Linked DNA regions of Homo sapiens: region 1 is linked to region 2. Evidence: promoter capture Hi-C in 16 types of primary human blood cells and fetal thymus (Javierre and others, 2016). All regions are on one chromosome and are shown on one strand. The core of a region is centred on a gene start or on the middle of the fragment in contact, and the rest is flanking DNA. Distances in the headings are between cores, read along the strand shown.

What was found. The method cuts DNA at HindIII sites, captures the fragments that hold promoters and counts their contacts. A CHiCAGO score of 5 or more calls a contact.
Region 1: a fragment that was not itself captured here is called in contact with the fragment with the promoter of CDH4 in region 2 in 4 of 17 cell types (M0 macrophages, endothelial precursors, naive CD8 T cells and 1 more); the score reaches 8.2 in M0 macrophages.

Annotation. Positions count from the first base shown.
Region 1 is chr20:60,208,120-60,212,920 of GRCh38, reverse strand. All of the region lies in intron 3 of MIR646HG (MIR646 host gene), which reads right to left. Among named protein-coding and RNA genes, the nearest start is that of MIR646HG, 72 kb to the right of the region's middle. RefSeq lists a silencer at 1,542-1,781. The HindIII fragment of the contact is 2,916 bases long and covers 1-2,760 here.
Region 2 is chr20:61,249,686-61,254,711 of GRCh38, reverse strand. CDH4 (cadherin 4) reads right to left here and starts at 2,451. Exons shown (of 16, transcript NM_001794.5): 1 at 2,142-2,451. The coding sequence starts at 2,198. RefSeq lists an enhancer at 1-347. The HindIII fragment of the contact is 4,745 bases long and covers 695-5,026 here.

The sequences.
Region 1 (4,801 bases), core at 53-2,552, 1.0 Mb after region 2:
GACCTCTGGCCATGACCCCAAGGCCTTTGCTCCCTGACCGCTGCCCAAGATCCTTCACTAGGGCCAGGCTCCTGTGTCCAGCCCAGGACCACTGCCACTCAGGTTCTAGCATAATGCTACCAGGTCACCCCTTCAAGTTCCCACCTTTGCCATAATCACTGTGCACTAAACGTGGCCTGGGACATATGGCAGTGCCTGTTCAGAACCCCCAGCCACAGTCCCTTCTTCTGCAAACACCCAGATCTCCCCGCCATCCCCCCCAAACCCTTTAAAATCTGTTTGGTTTTCTTACAATTTATGCTCAAGACACACAGAAATATCCACCATCGCTTTTTCACGGTACCTAAAGAGCTTGCTTTGCTTATGTGTACACTAAAGCTACAGTGACAACAAAACAATTCTATGTCAGTGGAACAAGCAACTCACACAAAGAAGCACGTCAGCTTTTAATAATGCCAAGAAAAAAGCCCTCCGCTGCTGTGCCCACCAGTCTTCCTATATCTGATGCCCATTTAGGGACGCCTGGAAGAACGGCAGCCTGTCTGCTGTCTGGGAAAGCATTCTCTGGCTGGGTTGTGTTACTCCTAAATTATTCATAATCTTGACTGAGATTCATCAAGGTCACCACCTCCTGGAACCTTTGCGCCGAGAGGAGCATGCGGGTGCCTTCCAGGCCTAAAAAGATGCAGGAGATGCAAGTCTCTGAGTGCAAAGGCCTCTGCTAAGCCCTCCGCACCTGCTTCTGGCCTCCTCCGCAGAGGAAGCCAGGCTCATCTTTACTCCGAATCAGAGACCTGCAACACGGCCTGTGCTCATTTCAAACGGGCAGAGAGGACAGTCTTACCACTTACATTTAAAACCTAACTCCAAGCATGTTCTGAACCTGGTAGTTACAGTCCGGGAAGCCTGATTGTCAACAGCTCACACTTTATTCCTGATTTCTGCCTGGGTAGAAAGGCACTCCAGGTCCTTACCAGCTCGAGTCTGTCACTTGAACACATGAGACATACTGAACACACTCGGGGACACACACCTAGAAGGCCCCAGCGTGGGTGCGCACAGGGATGAGGCTCTCCTGCCCAGGAGACACCCACTGCTCTCCCAACACAGTGAGTCTAGTCTCCCAGCCCCATCACCACTGGGCAGAAGCCCTGGAACCAAACACTGGGGGTCTGGAGCCCAGAGGCAGGGCCATCCGGAGCCGCTCATGCTGCAAGGCTGCTGTGGAATTCTCCATTCTCCATGTGTTTCCTTTGGATCAAGAGGTTTTTGTTTTTGTTTTTAGAAGAAGAAATAGAATGAAAAACAAAATACTGAGCTAAAATCTAAATTATTTCTTCTCCTGAAACACACTCACTATGCACATTGATGGAAGTTCTCAAAGACTTATGTTCAAAGGGTGGATTTCTAAGGATTTCAAAAAAGACGGTCAAATAGAATCTTTTCTTTCTTCCTTCTGAAGAAGAGTGGATCACAAAGTTATCTGAGTTGTACAGCCAGGAAGGTGAAGAAACATAGATTTGGGTCGTCTCGGCATAAACATAAAAATGCGGCAGCCCGCTTGCGTGCTGCTTAATTTCTTTTTGTCTTAGAATTACCACTCTGCCCCTCGGCCTGAGTGACAGGCGCGAGGCAACAGCGCCATCTGTAGGAGAAACTTCACAGCCCAGGCAGGACGCTCAACCCTGTGGTTCAGCCCCGTCCGACACTTTCAGGATTCAGAAGCTCCGATACCAGCACCCCTTCCCCAGCACACACACACACACACCCATCCCTGGATGAGCTGAATGCCCAACTCGGTCATCTAAAGAATAAATGGGCCAGGCACAGTGGCTGACATCTGTAATCCCAGCACTTTGGGAGGCCGAGGTGGGAGGGTTACTTAAGTCCAGGAGTTTGAGACCAGCCTGAGCAACATAGTGAGACACCGTGTCTACCGAAAATAAAAATTAGCCTGGCACGGTGGCGTGGCATGGACCTGTAGTTGTAGCTACTGGGGAGGCCAAGGTGGGAGGATCGCTTGAACCTGGGAGTTCCAGGCGGCAGTGACCTGTGATCACGCCACTGCACGCCAGCCTGGGCAACAGAGTGAGACCTCGTCTTTAAAAAAATAAAAATAATAAATAATAAATGGTTACTATTATGTTGGAGGAAGAGTTAGTAAGATCTATCACTTTTTTAATTGGCCATTTCCTCTAATCTAGCAATTATTCCAATTCTAGAGGTTTATCTTGCATAAATATTAGCTTGTATGCAGAGATAAAAATCCAAGGGATACTCACTGCAGTGTTCGTTTAGTAGTGAAATATAAAAGCAATGTAAACATTGTTAATAGGACTGGTAAAATAAATTAAGGCCCTCTAGGGCACAGAAGCCTGTGTGAAATTTACCATGAACCAATTTGCCATGAACCAGGAGTTATGCACGTAAGGAGACTGGACTGTTTGCCATAGTAAAATTTCCAGTTACAAAAGCAGCTTTGCCAAAATCATGTAGAATGTGGTCTTTCTGTAAAGATGTGTGTTCTACACACACACACACGCACACACACATAATATCTGGAAGAATGTGTTCTACACTGTGATGTTACAAACAGTGGCTATCTTGGGGGTGGGAGGAAAAGGAGGAAATTCACTTTCTACTTTGTACATGTTTGCATTATTTGAATTGTGTTGCAAACATGTACTAATTTTGGATTTACTCTCACGGTGCTTGAGGACATACTCGAGTCATCCTCAGAGTATCTCTGGAAGGCAAGCTTTTTGGGTCCTTGCATCTCTGCAGGGTTCCATTTTGCTCTCTAACCTGAATGTGATTTCGGCTCAACACAAGATCCTACGTGCAAGCCAGCTTCCCTCAGAACTGCCAAGTCCCACATCATCTCCTAACATCTGACACTGGCAGTGAGAAGTCTAATGCCGATCTGAACTGTGTTTCTTTGCAAGAAACCTCATTTTTCTTTCTGGGAGCTTTTGATATTCTACTCGGCCTTGGTTTTCTGAAAATTCAGCACAATGTGTCCAGCGCAGGCCTTTCTTATTTCTCCTGCTCCCAATGCAGTGGGTACCTTCAATATGATGACACGTGTCTTTTTGTAACTCTGGAAAATTTTCACTGATTTTTTCTTTTCAATTCCTTCTCCACATTGCCTCTTTTCTTCCTTCCCAGAATTCTTTAACTAGATGTCCATCGTGGAGATTCATTCTCTATGCCTCTTATCTATCTTACATTCTCTCATCTATCTTACACATAGAATGTTGGTGCATTCTAGAAGAATCCCTTAAGCTTTAGCTATATCCATTCTGCTACTCAGCCCATGCATGGAGCTTAATACAGCATTTCAATAATCCCATTTTTAACTTCTTAGATCTCTGGTGGATTCATTTACATCATAGATGATGCTTTACATACTTGAATCTCTCCAAAGTACCTAAAGTTGCTCCATTTTCTTCAGTTTGCTGGGTTATTCCCATTCGTTACATTTTGGTTCTTCAGTTGGATGCATTTGGAGTCATGCACCCCACTGTTGATTTCTCTCAAGTGTCTGCTGATGTGTGATGATTTGCTTATCTTTATGTGTTAAACGCCCTGGTTTCCTGCCTGGTCCATTTATTGATGCCTGCTTTCTGAGATTGTGGGCAGGGGCAGGGCCAGCTGCTGCTGGCTGACAGATCTTGTTTTCTGGGTGTGGGAGCCACCCTGGCTCTCTGGAGGTCACTGACTCACTGGCTTTGTGACCTGGAGCCCTCACTACCCGCTTTGGCCTCAGGCAAATATCACTCCTACTTGACACTGTGGAGAGATGGAAAGAGCCTCCTCCCCGAATGAAGACCCTCAGGTAACCTGCTTGGCAAAGCCCCTGAACCCCACCTCCACCCTCCCGCCTGCCAGGTCTTCAGCTCTGGACTCTTTCCTGCCCTTCCCGGACCTTTGCCTGTGTTTGCTCTGGCTTCGTTTCTCTGAGTGGCTGATTTTATTTGCCTTTTAACTTTCAAGACCTCCTGGTCTACTGTTGTCACTTTATCTCGTTTGGATTATAATTTGCACTGTCGTTTTGCTCTTCCCATATGATTTGGGATGGGATTTAACATGTAAGAAAAATAAATACTATTTCTGTGGTTACATGACTTCCCCAGTGTAGAGAGGGCCAGGAAATGTACGAAGTCATCAATACTGATGCCAAAGTGTGGTGTCGGAGGTCACCATCCCCAAAATGGATTAAACAGCACAGACGGCCCATTCCATGGAGTTAATCAGCTTAATTGTGTTTCTTGGCATTACTGAATTTGGGGAAATAAGTTACTCTAAGTAACTTCAAATGTTAAACGTCAGATCACCAACATCTCATATTAAATTTGGAAATAACCCTTCACTAATCAAGAGAAACATGTACTCAAAACGGAACAATTGATATTTTCCTCTTCTATTCTCTTCTTCTCCTCCACCAATAAATTTTAATAAGGAACATGTAACTCCTAAGTTTGTAAAACTAGATAAACAAAGTGCTTAAAAATCTAAATTTTTTTGTTTTGTTTTTGTTATTACAACCCAAGATACTCTTCACATTAAGGTTAGAGGTTGGGTTTGGTTACCATCCCAGAGTTCCGCGTGGGAAGTCTTTCAGATTTCTTCTTTAATTCTTCTTTCGCATTTGGTTTTCTTCAAACAGGATGAGAGAAGCACACAGAAAGAAGGCATTCACTTAATTTTACAGACTATTTTTCCTGGGTCCTAGCTTAGAGAGGAGCATCTTGACCCATACGTCCTCTTTAGCATCTTTTGTGTGTGGGGAGGACTCAGC
Region 2 (5,026 bases), core at 1,202-3,701:
AGGCCACCGTCTCCACCCAGACGCGATACCCCGTCTGCTCCTCTGCTCTCTGGGGACTTTAGGGAGCACTCTCCAGGCTACAGACCAGGAGCATCCTTCCCCAGCCCCACACACAGCAGGCAGGGAGTGAAGGACGGACTGTTGGGGAAGCCAGGCCGGCCAGGGCCTTATTGGCAGAGGAGACGCCTGAGAAATGACCAAAAGGCAGAGACAGAAGACTTCAGCCGCTGCTCCCGAAGCCACTAAGGGCAGGGAGGCCAAAGTGTGGGCGGCTCTGCTCAGACCATTCGCGCTTTAGGCCCACCGCTCTGCGCTCTTGGTAAGGCGGAGGAGGCAGCTTCTTGTCTCCTCTCCAGGTCACCGGGAGGGAGGAGAAAGAGGAGAGAAAGGAAGAAGATTCTCTAGGACTAGGTCCGGAGCCGGTCGAAGAAGGCAGCTCTGCGGGAGGCTGCCGGTGGCTGGGGTGAGGAGGCAGTGGGGGCGCTTCCACCTTCTAGTCTTCAGCCCGCATTTTCACCCTCGGAGCCCCCATCTCCAGCCCAGGCAGGGAGACGGCTCCCCTAACTGACCGGAAAGGGGGTCTCCTCCTGTCCTCCGGAGCTCGCTCGCCTTTCCTGCTCAGTGGGGAAGTCTAGAGCCCATGGCACAGGGCCAGGGAAGGATGGGGTGGACGACAGGGCCCTCCGACCAAGCTTCTGGGAGGGGGCGTGACAGGCAGGAGGAGGTGGTGGAGGGAGAGGCAGTGTGTGCAAGCGGGAAGCCAGCCCCGCTGAAGGAGCAGGAGCACAGCGGTGCTTGGCTCCCCGGCGAGCGCAGGAAGCCTCGGGTGCAGCCCGCACCGGGCAGTGGCGCCTCCCGCCCGCCGCCTCCTCCAGCTCCGCGCGCTGCCGTCGCCCGCCCATGCTTCGACTCCGGAGGCCGCCCCCAGCCCGGAGCTCCAGGCTTCCCGACGCCGGCACCGCGGAGGGCGCCCCTCTACCCCCAGCACCGAGGGAGGAGAGCGGGACGCAGGGTCATTCCTTACGAAAAGCTCTAAACCGCGGCTTTCTTCATCGGCCACGAAGCTCCAAATCGCACCCGCAGCCCGGTGGGAGGCTCAACTCGCCCAGGAAAGTTTCCGCCCGCCCGAAGCGTGTGCCCAGCGCGTCCCCCAGCGCCCCGCGGCCTCGGAGCGGGCCTCCCGCCGCTGGCACTTGTTTATTTCCGAGGTTACAACAGCGCTGCCCGGGAGAAGGCAGCGAGGCCGATCGGCCACGAGAGGGGGTTCCTGCAACTCCCGCCGCCCCTCCGCCTCCGCCCAGGGGCGCCCCCGGAGCCGCCGCGCTCTCTGCCCCCGCGGGCCGCGCACCTCGCCAGGCGCAGAGCAAAGCTGGCAATCCGGCCCGCGGGGCTCTGCAGAGGCAGCGGGAGACCCGCTCGCCCTCCCGGGGCGCCCTCCCGCGCCGCGCCCGCCCGGCGTCCGGCTTCCCGGCCCAAGCCCGGCCCAGCTCCCAGCCCCCGGGGCCCCGCCGGACACGCAGGCTCCAGCCCCGCCGAGGGCTCGGGGGTGAGAGTGCCCCGCAGTCCTACCCCGCCGCCCACCCGCAGCGCGGGTCCTGCCGGCACCCACAGAACTGAGCGGCGCCGCTAGACGGACCCCCAGGCCTTGGGCAGGAGAGGTCGGGCAGGCGCCCCGCACTCGCGGATCCCTGGCCCGCAGCCGCCGGGCGCCCCACGCCTTCAGCCACGGCCGGGGCTGGGCTCGGCAACTCCCGCGGCGCGCGGCTCCCGGGCGATGGAGGGCGCGCCGGCTCCGCCAGTGGAAGCCTGCCCCATGCAGGCAAGCCGAGCTCCGGGTAGCGGCTACGGGCTTTGGGCGTTCGAGGGAGGCTCGGCGGGTCCGGTGCAGGCGGAGCTCCCCGGGTCCTCCACCGAGCCCCACTCCCACCCTGCTCCGCCGCTCCCCGCTGCCCAGGCGGCTTCCCGCTCCTGCCGACCGCAGGCAGCTTCGCCGAGCGCGGGCGCCGGGCTGGATGCAGCGGGGAGCGCGGCGGGGGAGCCCGGGAGAGCCCCGCCGGGTGTGTGAGCGCCCCGCGGGATCCGGGGACGACCTCCCGCTGCCCGGGGCTTCCGAACGGCGGGGGCGGGAGGCGGCAACTTACCCGGAGCGCGCCGGAGAGCGAGAGCAGCAGAAGGAGCACGCCGGCGCCCGCGGTCATCTTCCCCGCCGCCCGCCCGGTGCCCGGCACCGGGAGCCCGCTCCCTGCCGCCGCCGCCGCCGCCGCCGCCGAGACCACCGCCGCCGCTCCGATCGCCGCCGCCGCCGCCGCTCCCCCGCGCCTGCCCGGAGCCTCCAGCCCCGCTGCGCCCGCCGCGCTCGCCGCCCCGGCTCCGGGAGCCAGGCCAAGTCCGGCCGGCGGCGCGTTCCCTCGGGCCGGTGCGTCCGCCGGCCTCGCAGCCGCCCGCGCCTCTGTTCCGCGCGCTCGGAGCTGCAGGTGAAGCCGCGGCCGCCCCGCCGAGGCCCCGCCCCGCCGCCCGGCCCCTGCGCTCGCTCTGCCGACGCGGGCCTTAAAGGCGCAGAGCCCGCGCCCGCGCCCCCCGCGCCGCACCAGCCCAGCCTCTGCCCTCCTGGACGTCTGGAGCCGCCCGGTTGCGGCCGAAGAGGCCAAGGACGCTCGTTTTCCAGGGGAAAAAGGCGCGGGTGTGGAGACTGAAGACAGCGCTGGGGTTTCCGCCCCCACACCCGGGGCACCCTTTCTGGATGGGGCGGTCCCGCCGCGGTCTTAGTCCGACTTCCCGCCCGGGCCCGCGGTGGGAGTGTGCACTTCCATTCTGTCCTTTTATTTTTCAGGTGTCTCCTTGCTAACTCCCCTGACCCGGGCTTGAACCCAGGTCGGGCAGCTCAGGGGTGAGAGTTTCCACCTGGAGCAGATGAGCAGAGGGCCACGCTGAGATTTCAGCCTGTGGGGCTTTGCAGACCCTCCCGCTCCTAGGAAAACTCAAAGCCCTGGCCTGGGCTAGGGATGTACCCTAGGATTGGGGACGGTAGTAATTCCTGTGTGTGCATCAAAACACCCTGTTAGGCCTCAGAAGCCAAGAAAGAAATTAGAAGCTCCAAGAAAGAAAGAAGTGCCCAGACAGGAGCTGTCAGGAGTGTCTGCGCCGACAGGCTGGGCCAGCTCCAGCTCCCTTTGCCCTGCATGGGTGATGGCTGAACTGGGGGGCACTTCTTTAAGGGTTATCAGGTAAAATATATGTACAGGTCGGACAGTGAGTAAATGTTTCTGCACTTTTCCTTTTGGCTTGGAGATTTAAAGAAACGCGGTTTTGTTTGTTCAGATACATCGAATTTTCTTTGTCTGGGGTTTCAGGGACTCTGTGTCCAGAATACATTAGTTCTGGTTTAAGAAATAGGTTGCAAAGGAGAGGGTGGAAGATTGAGTGACACTGTTGAGCTCCAAGATCAGAGTCCACTTGGGCAAGCCAGTAGAGAAAGCTACAGAGCAGCCGCTTCCCTCTCTCCCTCCCAGAACCCCCACCCTTGGGGGCAGGGTGGTCTCCCGGTTAGAGCTCTGCCTTACGCTTAAGGAAACCAGATTTTAGATAACCCCAGAGGACCAGAGTAAGCACTACATCCGAGAGCACAAGGCGAGATTCGGTTTTGCAACTTAACTATGGAACTAGTCAGGAGACACAAAATCTGCCCCAGCCTGGACTCCTATCAGTTATGGCCTTGTCCCACTCCCCACCTAGCCGAAGAAGGAGAGGTTACCAGTTGACATGGCTGGAGGTTTAGACTCACTCGAAGGTCCTGCGTAGCCAGTGAGGTTTCATGAACAGATCCATCCAAAATCCTCATGGACAGAGAATTCCATTCCTCGGCCATGTGCCCGTCCTTTGGGAAGACGCCCCCTCTGCTTTCCTCCTTATTCAAGGTGCTTCACCACTGCTCGAGCGACATCAGAAGCTGTCCAAGACTGCTTTAGACACCAAGACAGCTCTCTTGTCTTGTGTCCCTGGTCTATTTTCTTAAAATATCTGTCGCTGGGGATACACCTTTGTCTGCAGGAGGCCTGAGCATTATGCGAGTTATTTCTTTGGAGAGGCATCACAGACCCCCGCATTTGCTCCAACGTGCTCTGCGAAACTGTTGAAGCGCTGAGGAGCGCGCCAATTTGAAAAAGAAAAGGTATGAGTGTGTGGCAGGGAGACTGGGGTCCAGGAGCAGGTGGGTCCTGAACTCCAAACACTGTGTTAAGCACATCTCCCTCTACTACTGAATGAATCTTGAGTCTACTGCAGCGTGATTTCCAGAAAGGGTAGAGTTTGACAATAGCCTGTCCTTACAAGGTGCTAGCTATGTGCCAGGGACATGTGTAGGAGCTTTATGTAAAGTTGCTCTTGGAGTCCTTCTAACTCCACTATACAGTCAGGCAGAGGAGGGTGCAGAGGGCAGGCACGGGGAAAGCTGCAGTGCCAGCATTCTCACCCAGAGCTGGGACCCTGGCACACGCAGCATGGCCCCAACTTTGTTCAAAGAAACCTTCTTACACAGCTGTAATGTCTTACGGGAACTCGCATTTTCCGAAATACATAGTTTCAGAAACACTGCAGTAACTGACAGGAGTCCAGTAGAGAGCATTGGTTTATCAGACTTACTCTGAATGCAGCAGCAAAGATTGCTGAGACAGAAAAGAAAAATATGACCTAAAATACAAAGCAGTGCCTCCAAAGAATGGTCTTCAGCCTGTCACTCTGAGTGTGGTCCCCAGACCAGCAGCATCAAGATCCCCCAGGAGCTTGTTAAAAATGCAGAAACTCAGGCCTTACCCCAGACCTGCTACATTGATTCTGAATGCTGATGGGATTCCCCGCCACGCCCACCTCTGGTCTGCAATCATCTGCAACAAAATCACAGAGAAACTCATGAAAAATGCCAGTTCCTAGGCTCCACCTGAAATCCATGGACTTGGAGCTTTTGCAAGTGGGGCCTGGAAGCTGACCTTGTAACAATCTCTCCAGTCCATGCTCATGCCACTAGCATTTG